Regions from separate parts of the Homo sapiens genome. Here region 2 is linked to region 1. The links are contacts of gene promoters, found by promoter capture Hi-C in blood cells and fetal thymus (Javierre and others, 2016). All regions are on one chromosome and are shown on one strand. The core of a region is centred on a gene start or on the middle of the fragment in contact, and the rest is flanking DNA. Distances in the headings are between cores, read along the strand shown. Region 1 holds the start of RHOB (ras homolog family member B). Region 2 holds the start of LOC105373456 (a long non-coding RNA gene).

Region 1 (7,391 bases), core at 4,133-6,632:
CCCACCCCACCCCCAAGATTTTTTCCACCTACACATCACCCACTCCTGCTTAAGATTTAGCTCAAATGATTCCTCCTCCATGACACCTTCCCCATCTTCCCGGGCAAAAATAGGTACCTGTGCCCTAGGCTCCTGTCGTGCCCTTGCCTAATGCCTCCATTACATCATGCTATAATTGTGGTCTTGGTGGATGCCTTCTTGCAACTGCCAGGGGGCCACCAGGCTGTGAATGAGCTCCTGGAGGGGGAGGACTGTGTTTTATTGCTTTTGTATTCCCACCTCATCAGAGTTCACAAAGTAGGTGCCAACGCTGATTAAATTAGAGTGCTGTTGCATTCTGAATTCAGGAATGGCAGAAATAGGTTGGGGCCTGGTGGCTCATACCTGTAATCCCAACACTTTCGGAGGAGGATATAACAGGACTGCTTGAGCCCTGGAGTTCGAGACCATCCTGGGCAAAATAGCAAGACTTTGTCTCTACAAAAAAAAATTTAAAAGTTAGCTGGGCACACCTGTAGTCCCACCTACTCAGGAGACTGAGGTGGGAGGATTGCTTGAGCCCAGGAGGTTGAGGCTTCAGTGAGCTATGATGGCACCACTGCACTCCAGCCTGGGCGACAGAGCAAGACCCTGTCTCTTAAAAAGGAAAGAAAGAAATGAATCTCTAGAAGGGCATTAAACCCATTTTTGCAGAAGAATGTAGGGAAGAGAAGATAGGAGTTATGTGTGGCTTATCTTAGAAGGAAAGCTCTCTGGAAGCTATGTACTCCGTTGTGTAAGGAAGTCAAGACTGCAGGGCATAGCACCATAAGTCTGTGGAATTTAATCTATTTTCATAGGAAACCACCTCCCTACTCTGTACACTGACAAGGACTCTCCCTTATTCGAAGCCAGTAGTTCTCAAAGTGTGGTCCCAACCAGCAGCTTGTCATCACTTAGAACCTTGCTACAAATTCAAATTCTTAAGCCCTAGCCCAGACCTACTGGATCAGAAACTGTGGGGTTAGGCCCAGCCATCTGTGTTTTAACCAGCCCTCCGTGTAATTCTAATACACACTTGACTTTGAAAACTGAAGTTCCAAGTCTACTGAAACTCACGTGAAAAAGACCTTAGAAATACAATCCAGATTGATTAAAGATTAAGATTAAAGGAGAACTCAAGACAATGCCCCTTACTGCAAAATGCCCAGGATCAATGCAACTTCCCAGTATTTTCCACGAAACAGTTCAACAGGCAATTAAATCAACTCAACACATTTATTTTAAATGTGCAAAATGAATTTTCATATTCTAAGAGTAACACCAGATGTTTTACCTCTTTTTCCTAATTGATTTTCCAGCCTACAGCAATTCATCTTTATGTTTTCCAGTTGGATCCTAATGCAGCAAGAAGAGTGTGTTCCGGCAGGATTATGAAATGCCACGCATTTTCAAACAAGCATAACTTGGGCTGCCATGCGTCATCTGAGTGTTTGTCTGCCCATAATATAAAACACAGACAGTTATGGGTACCAGGCAGATCAGAGCAACCCAGAAAAGGCCCTTTCAGGGAGTTGGGCCTCCAGGCTCTTGGCTGGTTGCAAAGCTGAGTCCTGGGCATTCAGCCCAAGCCTGAACTCTTCCCCCACTGGGTCCTGCGCTCCCTGGTACCAAAGGATTTGCTAGCTGTAAAAGCTGCAAATAAACATGCTGTTTGTCGATGGGAAGTTTTGTCTTTAAAATGAAAAAGGAGACTGCAGTCTGGAGGTGAGTGGGGCCGAGGGACTGAGGAAGGAGTTAGGCAGTTGCTCAAAGCAGGCAGCCTGGATAGACCCCTCTCCCCTCTGCTCCTGGAGGAGCCCAGACAATCCCCTTCTGTTAGTCAATGCACCCACCCAGCTGAGCAGGAGGTCCAGTTACTGCCAGCATTTAAGTGGGTGAAAGGTCACCACCAACCAGGTTTTATTCACTCAACAAAAGCTCTTGGAGTCTGGGGTAAGACCAGGAAACAGAAGCCTCAAGCTTTGAAGCAAACAACTTCAAAGGAGACCTCCACCTTTGTCCTGGGAATGGGGAGGAGGGGGAAGGAGAAGGTGGCAACTAAGTGCTAGAAACCCAGAAAATGCTGATTCAAAAAAAATGAAAACCACACTTCTCAGGCAGTTGACACTCTCAGCTACCTTCCCTGGAAGCTGCGAGAGCTGGCAGGTTTGAACCATCATGCCTGCAGCAGAATTTTAATGTGGTCTCCACCTATAAATCAGCCCGTCTGGTTCTAAGAACCATTACAGCAAAGCTAAGTGTCTACGATTAGAGTTTATCATGACTCTCAAAAAGTGGCAGCTCCAACTTTAAGAACCACCAAAACATCCAATGTTCTTTCCACAATATGGCCCTTCTCTGAACTTAGAATAAATCATTCTAGGTTACTTAATAAAGGACATATTGGGATCAAAGCTTGATAATTTTAAAAAATCACCTCTTTATCTGAACTCCCCCACTTCTGGAAGCTCCAGGCCCAAAGATAACAACCTACAACTTCCTGGGATATTGTGTAAACCCCTTGATGGCCTGAAGGGAACCCAGTAAACAGGCTTCCTGATAGCGTGACCCCACACCAACGATTAATAAAGGTTTTCTAAATTTAAAATGCACAAATGATAACTTTCCAAGACTCAAAGAATAAGCAAAGCCCCATAATAGACTTAAAGACACAAGTGTTTTTAAGACACACAGATGAATGAAATCAAGATCTTCGGTCTCACCCAATTGAACTGAGTACATAATAGGTCAAAAGTTTTTGCACTGGGTGTCGGGGTATCCACTCATCTTCCTCTAGGAATGTGACAGGAACAACCTGGTCTCCCTTGGTCACCCAACCCCCACATGCTCTCAAAGGGACTTCATCCTCATTTACTACATTTGCTATAAGGGAAACGGAGTTGGCAAGAAAGGATCTCGCCTAGGAGAATATCTCCCTTGTTCCAAATTCACAAGGGTATTTTTACACACTATTAAACCACAAGAGCCATTTTATAAATGTCATCATCATAGTCTTTTAATATTTTACATAAAAAACTGTATACACAGCTTATAGAACTTTTATGTAAACATCATAAGCTCACCATTTTGTCATTTGTCAGTTTATTTAAAAAATAAAAAACAAGACAACAATTTAGTAGAAGTACCACTGGGAGGGAGGGGAGGGGAAAAAAGGATATACAGGGGCAGGTGTATTCTCTGTACAGAGGTGCAGAGAAAATTTCACATAGCTTTAGAGAATGCCTTGTGGAAAAAAAAAAAATAGGCCCCAATACTTGTTACTGCCCTTTATCAAAACTGTGTGCATGACCTGCACAAATAAAATCACAAAACAGTGTTGCCACATTCTTCAAGGAAACAAAGCAAAATTTAGTGGGTTTCTTTTCCCTCTCCTTGTTAAAAGTCATTTTTTAAAAACATCAGAAGTAGATGAGGTTACAGCGTACAAGTGTGGTCAGAATGCTACTGTCGTATGCAAATGACGAGTGCATTAAGTGTCAAACAATGAAACAATTGTGCAAAGAATAAAAAAACAAATTTTAGCCTTTAAATAAATCAAATAACATCAGTTTCTTGGACTGAACAATTTTCACTTCTAGGACAGGCACAAAGTTCGCTTATGGCAAAAACAACCCCACAGCGCATCCTCCCTCCTCCCTCCGGTAGCTGGTGGAGGGTTCGCAGCGGGCTGGCCCGCAGGAGAGGCTGTGCTGAAGCTGTGTCCTCCCCAAGTCAGTTGCAAATGTCTTCCCCAGGGGTTGGAAAGATGGTCAAGTCCTGTTCATGCTTGGGCGGGAGTCTGGCCCAGCCTGGGCCAGAGCGCTCACCCATCACCACCCTTAAATAACACCATCTTAGCTCCGAAAATAAAATTATATCTATATTTATATAACATCCCCCCATCCTCCCCAGCAGCCCTCCCCTCCCGCAGTACCCGGGGTCTATGTTACAGACAAGGGATATCAAGCTCCCGCTGGTGAAGGGCGAACATCTGATGGGGCGCGGCCACACTCCCGCGCCAATCTCGCCCCCGGGGATCAGAGGCGGGGGTGGGGTGAAAATGGGGCGAGGGGAGTCGAACAGACACACAGCCACACACTCTGAGGCCCGGCTCTTCAGAAAAGCATGCTCAGGGGACCCTTGGCACTCAGTGGGGAGCCCAGGCCTGTGCAACACAGCTGGACGCACACAGACACTGGGATGGGGGCGCCCGGTGCCCACGCCAAGTCCTGGCGCAAGCCAGAGGCGTCAGCAGACAGATGCCAGGCAGGCCGGTGGGGTCCTTGTGGGACACGGGTCTCCCCTTCTCCGGGCTCGCGGGGGACTGGTCCAGGAGGGGGAGCCGTGCCGGCAGGGGCAGGCGCGACGGGCGCGGCCCTCATAGCACCTTGCAGCAGTTGATGCAGCCGTTCTGGGAGCCGTAGCGCTTCTGCAGCGCGGCGCGCGTGGCCGTCTCGAAGACCTCGCGCACGCCTTCCTTGGTCTTGGCAGAGCACTCGAGGTAGTCGTAGGCTTGGATGCGCACGGCCATGGCGCGGCCGTCATCCGTGCGCACGGGTTCCTGCTTCATGCGGGCCAGCTCTGTGCGGACATGCTCGTCGCTGCGCAGGTCTTTTTTGTTGGCCACCAGGATGATGGGCACATTGGGACAGAAGTGCTTCACCTCGGGGACCCACTTCTCGGGGATGTTCTCCAGCGAGTCCGGGCTGTCCACCGAGAAGCACATGAGAATGACGTCGGTGTCCGGGTAGGAGAGCGGCCGCAGGCGGTCGTAGTCCTCCTGGCCCGCCGTGTCCCACAGCGCCAGCTCCACCTGCTTGCCGTCCACCTCAATGTCGGCCACATAGTTCTCGAAGACGGTGGGCACGTACACCTCGGGGAACTCGTCCTTACTGAACACGATCAGCAGGCACGTCTTGCCACACGCGCCGTCGCCCACCACCACCAGCTTCTTGCGGATGGCCGCCATGAGCGGGCCGGGCCCGGGCAGCAGGAGGGGGCCCGCGAACGCCTCGCTGCCCTCCCGCTCGCCGCTCACTGCTCACCTCGGGCTGCGCGCAGGTGGCGAGAGGGTCGCTAGCTGCACCCGGGCCCCGCGGTGGCGCGTTCTCTCGCTGCGCTTCGGCTGCCGCGGCGGGGGCGGTGGGGGCGCGGGGGCATAGGGCGCACCGTGCGTCTCGCCGCGCTGCTCCCGGGCGGTGGTCGCTCTGCTCACCCCAGGCCGGGGATCGGCGGCTTTGTGCGTAACGCGGGCTCGGGCAGCAGACTCGGGCGGTGGACTCGGCCTAGCTCTCTCCCGGGTCTCTCCGGGCCTCGCTGAGCATACAAGACAACAGCTCCAACCAGACTGCGGTGGCAGATGAGGGCTGCGGCCCTAGCGCCCGCTATTTAAAGAGTCCGGCCACTTTCTTAATATAGCCGTCCAATGGGAAACCAGCCGGCTGAGCTCATCGCTGCGGAGCTTAGCTCTGATTGGCCGCCCCCTGCAGCCCGAGGGCGGGGCAGGGCCAGCTTGATTGACGGCCCAGGCCGCCGGGCTGGGAGAGGCAGCGACCGGGGAGTCCGCGCTGCTGCTGCCGCTGCGGGGCTCTGGCGGTACCCGGGTCCCCTCCTTCGCCGCAGCGTTTGCGCGCGGGGTCCGGGAGCTGGCTGTCTGGAGCCTCCAGGGTCTGGGCGAGCGGTTCCGAGACAGGCTTCACTCAGTGGGGCGTTGGCGACTCCCATTCAGAATTGCCCCTCTTCCTGGCAAACTCCCGGCGGGTGGTCGGGCCTGTGGGGGAGGGGCAGCTCTTTTAACGTGGTTTTGTTTTTAAATAAACAGACACACACACACACACACACACACACACACCCCACACACACACTTTTGTTCCCAAACAAGAGTGTTTTCTCTTTTCTTTTGGAGGTGGCCCCTCCTGTGGTTTAGGGCCCCACCCGGGTACTCGCCGTGGGCCAGCCTCGGGTTTGGACCCGAGAGGCGACCGGCTGGCTGCAAACTGGCTCTTCCAAGTCCCGCCGCCCCTACCCTTCCCAACCCCCAGCTTAGGTCTCTAGGTGAAGATTAAGGGAAGAGGTGCGGAGTGGCCCAAGCTTGACAACGGAAAGGGAAGGTCGAGGCTCGAACACTTGGAGGAAGTTACCGGACAGGAAGAAGCCCCTTCGGCCCCTCTTTTCACTATGAACTCTGATCCCGGTTCTTAAAACAGAGAACTGTCTGAGATAAATTGTACAATAGAATATACACTATTGTACAATAGAATGTACAATAGAATATACACTATTGTACAATAGAATGTACAATAGAATATACACTATTGTACAATAGAATGTACAATAGAATATACACTTGTACAATAGAATGTACAATAGAATATACACTATTGTACAATAGAATGTACAATAGAATATACACTATTGTACAATAGAATGTACAATAGAATATACACTATTGTACAATAGAATGTACAATAGAATATACACTATTGTACAATAGAATGTACAATAGAATATACACTATTGTACAATAGAACGTACAATATTCCGGGTTCAATAGAATCCAACCACCCCAAGACCCCTGAGCAGACGAAAAGGCTTGAGGCTGGAGAAGAGGGGAGGAGTAAGGGGCTAGCAAATGGGGCACAGCGGGTTAGGGGGTGTCCCCTCTATTGGGGCGTAGCCTCCTGATGCACGCCAGGACTGAACTCATTTATCCTGTAGATCCTGCATGAAATGACAGTACCGGTGATCCGGAAAGACCCAAGTCAACCGATTTCTACGGATAAAAGAGGAAGAAGGGGATAGGGGGAAAGGGGAGTCGGGGAGGGCTCCCGGGCAGGAGAAACAGCCTGAACACAAGCAGGAAGGTGGGAAGGAGCGGGGCAAACTCTAGGAGCTGCATATGCTGGGGCTCATGAGTGCTAAAGTATTAACAGCATGGGCTGGGCTCTGTCTATCCATTGCATGGGAAATGTCTGCAAACTGTTTTTTCAGCAAAGGAGGGACCCACCACATGACCGGGAGGTGGTTGCCTCCTGTCTCCGTCTCTGTCTCGGTCTCTGTCAGTTGTTGGAGGGCCAGGATTCTGTCTTATCTCCGCATCTTGAAGACCCAGCACAATGCCTGGCATTTACAAGGATCAGTAAATGACTGTGGGGAATTAACCCGAATGCTCAGAAACGCAGGTGGAATTTTCTGGGGGTTTCTTACCTCAGTTCCACACTTCGCTTTAACAATTATCTAACCAGGCCGGGCACAGTACCTCATGCCTGTGATCCCTGGGCGTGGGAGGCCCAGGCTGGAGAATTGTTTGAGCTCAGGAGTTCAAGACCAGCCTGGGTAACATGACAAAACCCCGTCCCTGTCCCTGAGAA
Region 2 (7,008 bases), core at 988-3,487, 1.9 Mb after region 1:
TATTGTTTTAAAAAATAAGATTTTCAGGTTGTATCACATAGCAAAATCCAATTCTAGGCTCTGTACAAGAGATACTAAAACCAAGTGTTTGGAAAGGTTAAAAATGAAAGACACAGTTAGATTCAAGCCAAACAGCATTAAACTAGACAAAAGCATATACTTCATAAAGTTAAAATGCACAATTCACAAAAAGCAAATTAAAAGAGTAGTGCTTTGGTAACTAATTAGAGTTTATTTAGAGTGACCCTCTATTCCAGCTTACCATGGATAGTTTATGTCTGTTGTCCTGGCTTAAGTATTTATTGAACATTCTTTCATACCTAAAGTATATAGGTTTACATGTTAAATAATATGGTCATTTTAGGCACATTCCAGGAATGCAAGGATGGTTCTATATCAGAAAACATATTCACATAAATTCCTATCAAGTTTTAGCATTTTGCCATCAGCTTCATAACACTGCATGTCATGCTGTATTATATCCTTTGTATTGTATCGTATCATATAGGTCTCTGCTTTTTAGCATTCACTTTCTTTGGCTCACTGTATCACAGCTGTGATATATGTTCCTTTTACAGGGTCCCCTAAAAGGCTTTCTGGAAGATTTAGGCAGACTGCAAAAGAAGTTCTATGCCAAAAATGAACGGTTACTTTGTCCTATCAGGACCTACCTGGTTACAGCTAGGAGTGCAGCCAGTTCAGGCGCCCGTGTGCTGAAGACCCTTCGACGCTGGGGTCTAGAGATAGACGAAGCTCTTTTCCTTGCTGGAGCCCCCAAAAGTCCCATCTTGGTGAAGATCCGGCCCCACATCTTCTTTGATGACCACATGTTCCACATTGAAGGGGCACAGAGGTTAGGTTCCATCGCAGCTTATGGCTTTAATAAAAAATTCAGTAGTTAGGGGCAGGGAGGAGAAATAAAGTGGTGATAGTCTGGTGTTACAGAAGCCACTTCTTTTGGCTCTCTAGGATAATTAGATAGGTATTTCAGAAAATTGGACCTTAAAACTTTGCTTCTTTGGAAAGGTTTTCTCCTGATTTTTTGGAAAACCTTTTGAACCCTCAAGTTACCATCAAACTACTTCTCTTTGAACTACCAATACTGTTGAATGCCATTACACCTATCTCTGTGTAAGTCATAATGATGACTCTTTAGGATAAGTTTAGAACTTGAATATTTGCATGCTTAAGGCACTGTTTTAGAAGCTTACTTAGTTTTATAAACACTGCTCATTTTTGGATGTTTGTAGATAACAATGAATTGTTACCCATCAGCATTGTAGAATAGTGTCTTCAAAGGTAGAAGGAGTATGGTTAAGCACACTCTTGAAAACTGGAGCTTTGTATTCTGTGACTGCTATGGCTAGCTTTGTAACCAAAGCAAAATGAGAATTTCACTCTACCTGCATGAGTATAACAATTTTGATACTGCTCATTTAGAAATAAATCATCTGGTTGTTCCTCCAGGGTACTTTCTAAGATAAGCCTTAAACAGAAACCCCTAAGAAAGGTTCTCTGAAAATTATTTGGTGGGTTAAATGCCTCTGATCCACAGAGTTTCATATTTGAAGTCTCCGGCTTTGGGCCTGGCAGGCTGGCACATCCATATTTGTATGGAAAAAAAAAAAAAAGACCCTACGCTACCACTTCAAAAAGTGACATGAAGTGTAGTATCCTGGCCCTTCATTGTCATTCTCTCATGATTTTTGTTTTGTTTTCAACAAAAATTGGTTGGTCATTAAATATATCATATGTTAGGCACAGTGACCTGGTTATTTTCACATGTTACTTCATTTTCTTATCAAATTAAATGTTTGTGACATAGTATTATTATTACCTTCCTTTTTATCAATGAGGAGCCTAAGATTCAAAAAGATTAGACAGCTTGTTTAAGGATATGGAGCTAATAAGTGTTAAGACTAATTAGATTCAAATTCAAATCTTACTTCATAAGTTATAATGAGGTCTCTTTCCTCCCTTCCAAATAGAGTTATTAATTTCATGGCCTTTGGACCCATCTGGTACAGATTAATCATTTCATTAAGTTCCATGCATAAACTACACAGCAGTTACACTGCAGGTCTAAGGATTCCTCCCTCCTCTTTTCCTCCTACCCTCTCCTGCTCTCTCTACCTCCACCTTCATCTCTACTCCACCTGTACATATGTATTCCACCCCTGGCTCTAGATGAGAGAAGACCACAGCTGAAACACATCTTCTGATGCTCCCTAATTTTATGTAAACCAGTCCAAAATATATCAGTTGTGACATGTGACACTGAGTACCTACCATTTTGTAGGTGTCCTCCCATGCAAAGACCACAAGAGGTACGCAGACACAATCCTATCCTCTAGGAAACTTGAAACCTTAACAATCTGGTCAAGGAAGTCAAATGTGCAAACTCAAACAGCCAATACTAGAAGGCTGTTTGTCTTCAGTGCCAGTGAGGGTCACACATGACCCTGAGGGTCACACATGAAGGGAGCAGAGATCTTTATAGGCTGGAAGTGGTCAGGAAAGAAAGACTTGAGGTAGCCTGTGATTTTGATGGATGGGCAAGATGTGGATGGGTAGAAAGGACAATAAAGTGGAAACATATGCTGGGGGATCAATGAGTTTGAGTAGCAGCTTCAAATTGGGGATAGGGTGGTGTAGGACCACCTCTCATGATTCCTGTTCCTGGTGCCTTGTATAATCCCCAGTAAGAGTGCTCTTTCCCACCTCTGAGCTCCATTCTCATTACTCATAAGAAACCTCCTGGAATCCATCCCTTTTTCTTTGTATTCTGACTATTAGTTGCATGTTACATCCTTCCCAAATGTAAGGGAGTGGAAGATGGATTATCACAATTATTGGGGAGTTTGTCTCAAACGACACAAGCTGTGGTTCTTTTTCCTTGTCTGGAGAACCTGCAATGGGTGGAGGGTGGGAAGTGGGAGATCACAGTTCCAGAAAGTAAGCACCCTGAGAGCAGAAATGGTGTCCCATTTCTCTGTGGCTCTAACAGGGAACAGGCAGGGCCAGGCACATATTGGATGGAGAGGCAGACGAACGAATGAGTCTTTAAAAGTAGCTTGGTCTACAGCTATGAAGTTTGTAGCTTGAAGAAGGGTCCCTGTGACACTAACCCTGATATTAATGAGGCATTTTACAGTGAGCCAAGCACTTTGCCTTCCATCGTTGTGTGTAATAGTCCTATGGAGAGGGCAGGGAGGCATTTGTAAATGGCCTGCTCAGAAGCCTATATTTACAATAAGTCCAAGCTTTTCCCACTGTACCTCTGCCAGTGTGAAGATCATTTGAAGATGGCTTTCTTTTTTTTAATAGGGACCAATGACATAATGTCTTGTTCAGTGGTTCTCAAAGTGTGGTTCCCAGATCTGCAGCAGCAGCAGCACCTGGAAACTTGTTAAAAGTGCAAATTATCAGGCCCCATCCTGTACCTATTGAATTAGAAACTCTAATACTGGGGCCCTGGTTTTTTGTTTTCGTTTTGTTTCATTCCCCCACCCCGAACCCCCACCCCAAGTCCTCCAGGTGATTCTGATGTGCATTTAAGTTTGAGAACTACTCGACCATTCTATTTCCAACTGATTCATGTTGCTTAATTCTTTGTCTCATCTATGAAAAACAGTCCTACCTCAGACTTCAGCTTGTCAGGGCCCATTCCTCAGAAGGTGAATTGAACTGAATTTACAAGTCCCAAGAGCCCTCAAAGGAAAACACACGAAATGCCCTGAGGAGTGGCATTTGTAACAGGGCCTGTACAGAGATCTGTGATTCAAAGTACTCATCAGACATTCCCATGGGGAAGTCCGCCACTACTCTGGGATTTCAATACGTATGAACCCCAGCACCCTGAACACTGTGCTGGTTGCCCAGCCTCCATCATTAGGCTGGGAGGAGCTTCCACGGAGGGCGCAGGACCCAGGGCGCTGAACTCTCACAACCAATCAGGCGACCCCCCCAGAGGGAAACTACAAGTCCCAGCATGCCCCACGCGCACCGTCAGGGGCCGACCCGCCGCGCCCCAGCGTTCTCCGCGTACAGGTGGTCTCTTGGGTTCCGGTAAGGCGGCGGCTGCGGAACTCCCGTGGAGGGGCCGGTGGGCCCTCGGGCCTGACGATGGCAGTGGCCACTGCGGCGGCAGTACTGGCCGCTCTGGGCGGGGCGCTGTGGCTGGCGGCCCGCCGGTTCGTGGGGCCCAGGGTCCAGCGGCTGCGCAGAGGCGGGGACCCCGGCCTCATGCACGGGAAGACTGTGCTGATCACCGGGGCGAACAGCGGCCTGGGCCGCGCCACGGCCGCCGAGCTACTGCGCCTGGGAGCGCGGGTGATCATGGGCTGCCGGGACCGCGCGCGCGCCGAGGAGGCGGCGGGTCAGCTCCGCCGCGAGCTCCGCCAGGCCGCGGAGTGCGGCCCAGAGCCTGGCGTCAGCGGGGTGGGCGAGCTCATAGTCCGGGAGCTGGACCTCGCCTCGCTGCGCTCGGTGCGCGCCTTCTGCCAGGAAATGCTCCAGGTGTGGGCCTCGGGGGGCCGGGCTGGTGGGGAGGGCCTGGGCACGGTGTGGGAGGGGACTGCGGGCTGGGGCTGAGCCGCGAGGGACCGCCCTGGGGTTCAGGGTGTCACCTTGGGAACCGCTGAGGCTGAGAGGAGTCCAAAAAGCCACTTTGAGGCGGCCGGGAAGCTGCAGGGTTGAGAGGGAAAGAGAAACTAACTGGGAGGGCTGCCTTCTGTCCTCTAAGGATGTCGAAAAAGAAATGGGCCCAAGAGAAAAATAAATAAACCAGTTTCTGAACGTTTCATTTCGTTACGTGAGGACCGCCCCGAAGTAGATCCATGGCCTCTGAATTGTTTTTCCTGTGTCAGAAGTGAATTTGCACCAAGCTGTGTCTTCAGAACCCCTGAGCACTGGGGGAAGTTGCTAGCTAAGGACCTCATATCAGTCCTTTAAAAAAAGTTCTCCTTCCCCCGGCCTCTGCCCCTTTTCTGCTGGGGTAAGGAGCTCGCTGCCACCAGTAAACTCAGCACCATCCTTAACGGGACTGTGGCCTGATTTCCAAGTAGAATACATTTTGGAACCCAGTGGTCATGCTCCATACAGAGACAGGAATAAAAATAACACCCAGCATTATTGAAGATCTGTATGCCAGGAGCTGTGCCAAGCATTTCAGATTTTCCTTTTTGTCTTAAATGAAAATGAAGTGTCCTTGCCTATAACTGTCATTGAAGCTACACAGTAACCCTGTGGAGTAGGCATTATTATCATCCCTGTTTTACAACGCGAGGAAACTGAGGCATAGGAAGGCTAAGAAACTTGCTTGTGGTCTGTCTCCAGAACACTTGCTTTTAACCCTTGTTCTTTCCTCCTGCTGCCTGGCAGTGAGGTGTGAGGATTTCTTTGTGCAAATGGTAAGTAATTCCACATAAGTGGATGTTCTCCGTTGAGATTGAGGTAGAAGAGTTTCTTGCAGGGATAACTGGCATTCAGAGGGCATTTGTTCAGAAGAGTGAAATTTAAAATTAGCTGGGACAAGAAAGGTGCCTATATGACGTAGAGTCTCTTGAGTCTAGAGAAGAGGTTCCCAAATTTTCTCAGTAATTTTTTCATGATGCCCTTAGGCCAGAAATATTTCCCAGTTCATTTATTTAGAAAGTTTATTTTGCCAAGGTTAAGGATGCACCCGTGGCAGAACCTCAGGCGGTCCTGAGGACATGTGCCCAAGGTGGTCGGGGCACAGCTTGGTTTTATACATTTTAGGGAGACATGAGACATCAATCACATATGTAAGGTATACATTGGTTCTCCTGGAAAAGTGGGACAACTCGAAGTGGGGGCTTCCAGGTCATAGGTAGATGGGAGACAAAAGGTTGCATTCTTTTGGGTCTTTGATTAGCCTTTTACTGAATACAATTTACATGTGCAGGAGGGATAGAGGAATAATCACTTATGTCTTAGACTGGCTCAGTGAGTCTGCATTTTCACATAAACAATACGGCAGAGTCAGCAATCAGATAAGCATTTATCTCAGGTGAGCAGAAGGATGACTTTAGAGTTCTGTCTTTTGTTTGGCACTTGTGAAGATGAGCTATCAATTTATGAATACATTGCCAGGGTGAAATTCAACAGAAGTGTTTTAGGGTAAAGATCTTGAGGCCCATGTGGGCAAATTATGAGGGTGATATGTAGCTTCTTTTTCTTTGTAGCTATCTTATTTAGGAATAAAATGGGAGGCAGGTTTGTCTGAGGCAGTTCCCAGCTTGACTTTAACCTTTGACTTAGTGATTTTGGGTTCTGAGATTTATTTTCCTTTGACACAACCTAATAAGTAGTTATGTCCTAACAACTTAGTAGCTATTTGAGAAGATAACATAATTGAAAGAAAAAAATAATATGTTTATTTTGTTCTTAAACAGCCATAACTACTAATGGGAAATGTATCTCTGTTGGTCATTACACCAGTGTCTGAAACCTTGGAATCAGATTGGACACTTCCACCCTCATTTCCTGTTCTAGGTAGATTTTTAGCATTGTTCTTGTTTTTTATTACAGCAACTGCTAACAGCTGCTTAAAAGTCAGCTCCACAAAGAAATAATGTCATTGAAAGGAATATAGCACAATGTAATGTTCAAGCTGTGAACCACCTGGAGCTAGTAGTTTTGAGGTATTGAGCAAATATCACTGTGTTTCCCTCGAAAATTTAAAATATTCCACAACACCCTGAGAGTTTGCTGCAATGCTGTAGGCCACAGTTCGGGAGCTGTTGCAGAACTAGAGAGTTGGTTTTTTGTTTATTGCTAGTATTTAATTATGTGTAACACAGGTTAAGAAATAATACTCATCAGTGAGATTTTGGAAGCATTAAAGATGGATCTTTCTGTTCCTCTTTAAAATATAGATGGGGCTGGGTTTGCTTCTTTGGCACTTGAGGCAGAACTAATTAAAAAGTGAGGACACAAAGAGATAATTAAGTTGTCCTTGCTTCTAAGTAAGTATTTCTGTTCCTG

The links. The method cuts DNA at HindIII sites, captures the fragments that hold promoters and counts their contacts. A CHiCAGO score of 5 or more calls a contact.
Region 2: a fragment that was not itself captured here is called in contact with the fragment with the promoter of RHOB in region 1 in 1 of 17 cell types (activated CD4 T cells); the score reaches 6.9 in activated CD4 T cells.

The regions. Positions count from the first base shown.
Region 1 is chr2:20,445,065-20,452,455 of GRCh38, reverse strand. It overlaps RHOB (ras homolog family member B), which reads right to left and starts at 5,382. Exons shown (of 1, transcript NM_004040.4): 1 at 3,016-5,382. The coding sequence starts at 4,990. The coding sequence ends at 4,400. RefSeq lists an enhancer at 1,694-2,255 and silencers at 4,964-5,173, 5,424-5,673. The HindIII fragment of the contact is 3,675 bases long and covers 2,439-6,113 here.
Region 2 is chr2:18,557,690-18,564,697 of GRCh38, reverse strand. NT5C1B-RDH14 (NT5C1B-RDH14 readthrough) reads left to right here. Exons shown (of 11, transcript NM_001199104.2): 10 at 579-853. It overlaps NT5C1B (5'-nucleotidase, cytosolic IB), which reads left to right. Exons shown (of 9, transcript NM_033253.4): 9 at 579-1,827. The coding sequence ends at 902. It overlaps LOC105373456 (a long non-coding RNA gene), which reads right to left and starts at 4,522. Exons shown (of 6, transcript XR_007086234.1): 1 at 4,007-4,522; 2 at 672-877. It overlaps RDH14 (retinol dehydrogenase 14), which reads left to right and starts at 4,045. Exons shown (of 2, transcript NM_020905.4): 1 at 4,045-4,518. The coding sequence starts at 4,126. RefSeq lists enhancers at 3,636-3,855, 3,866-3,915, 3,976-4,025, 4,836-4,885 and a silencer at 4,116-4,625. The HindIII fragment of the contact is 2,057 bases long and covers 1,209-3,265 here.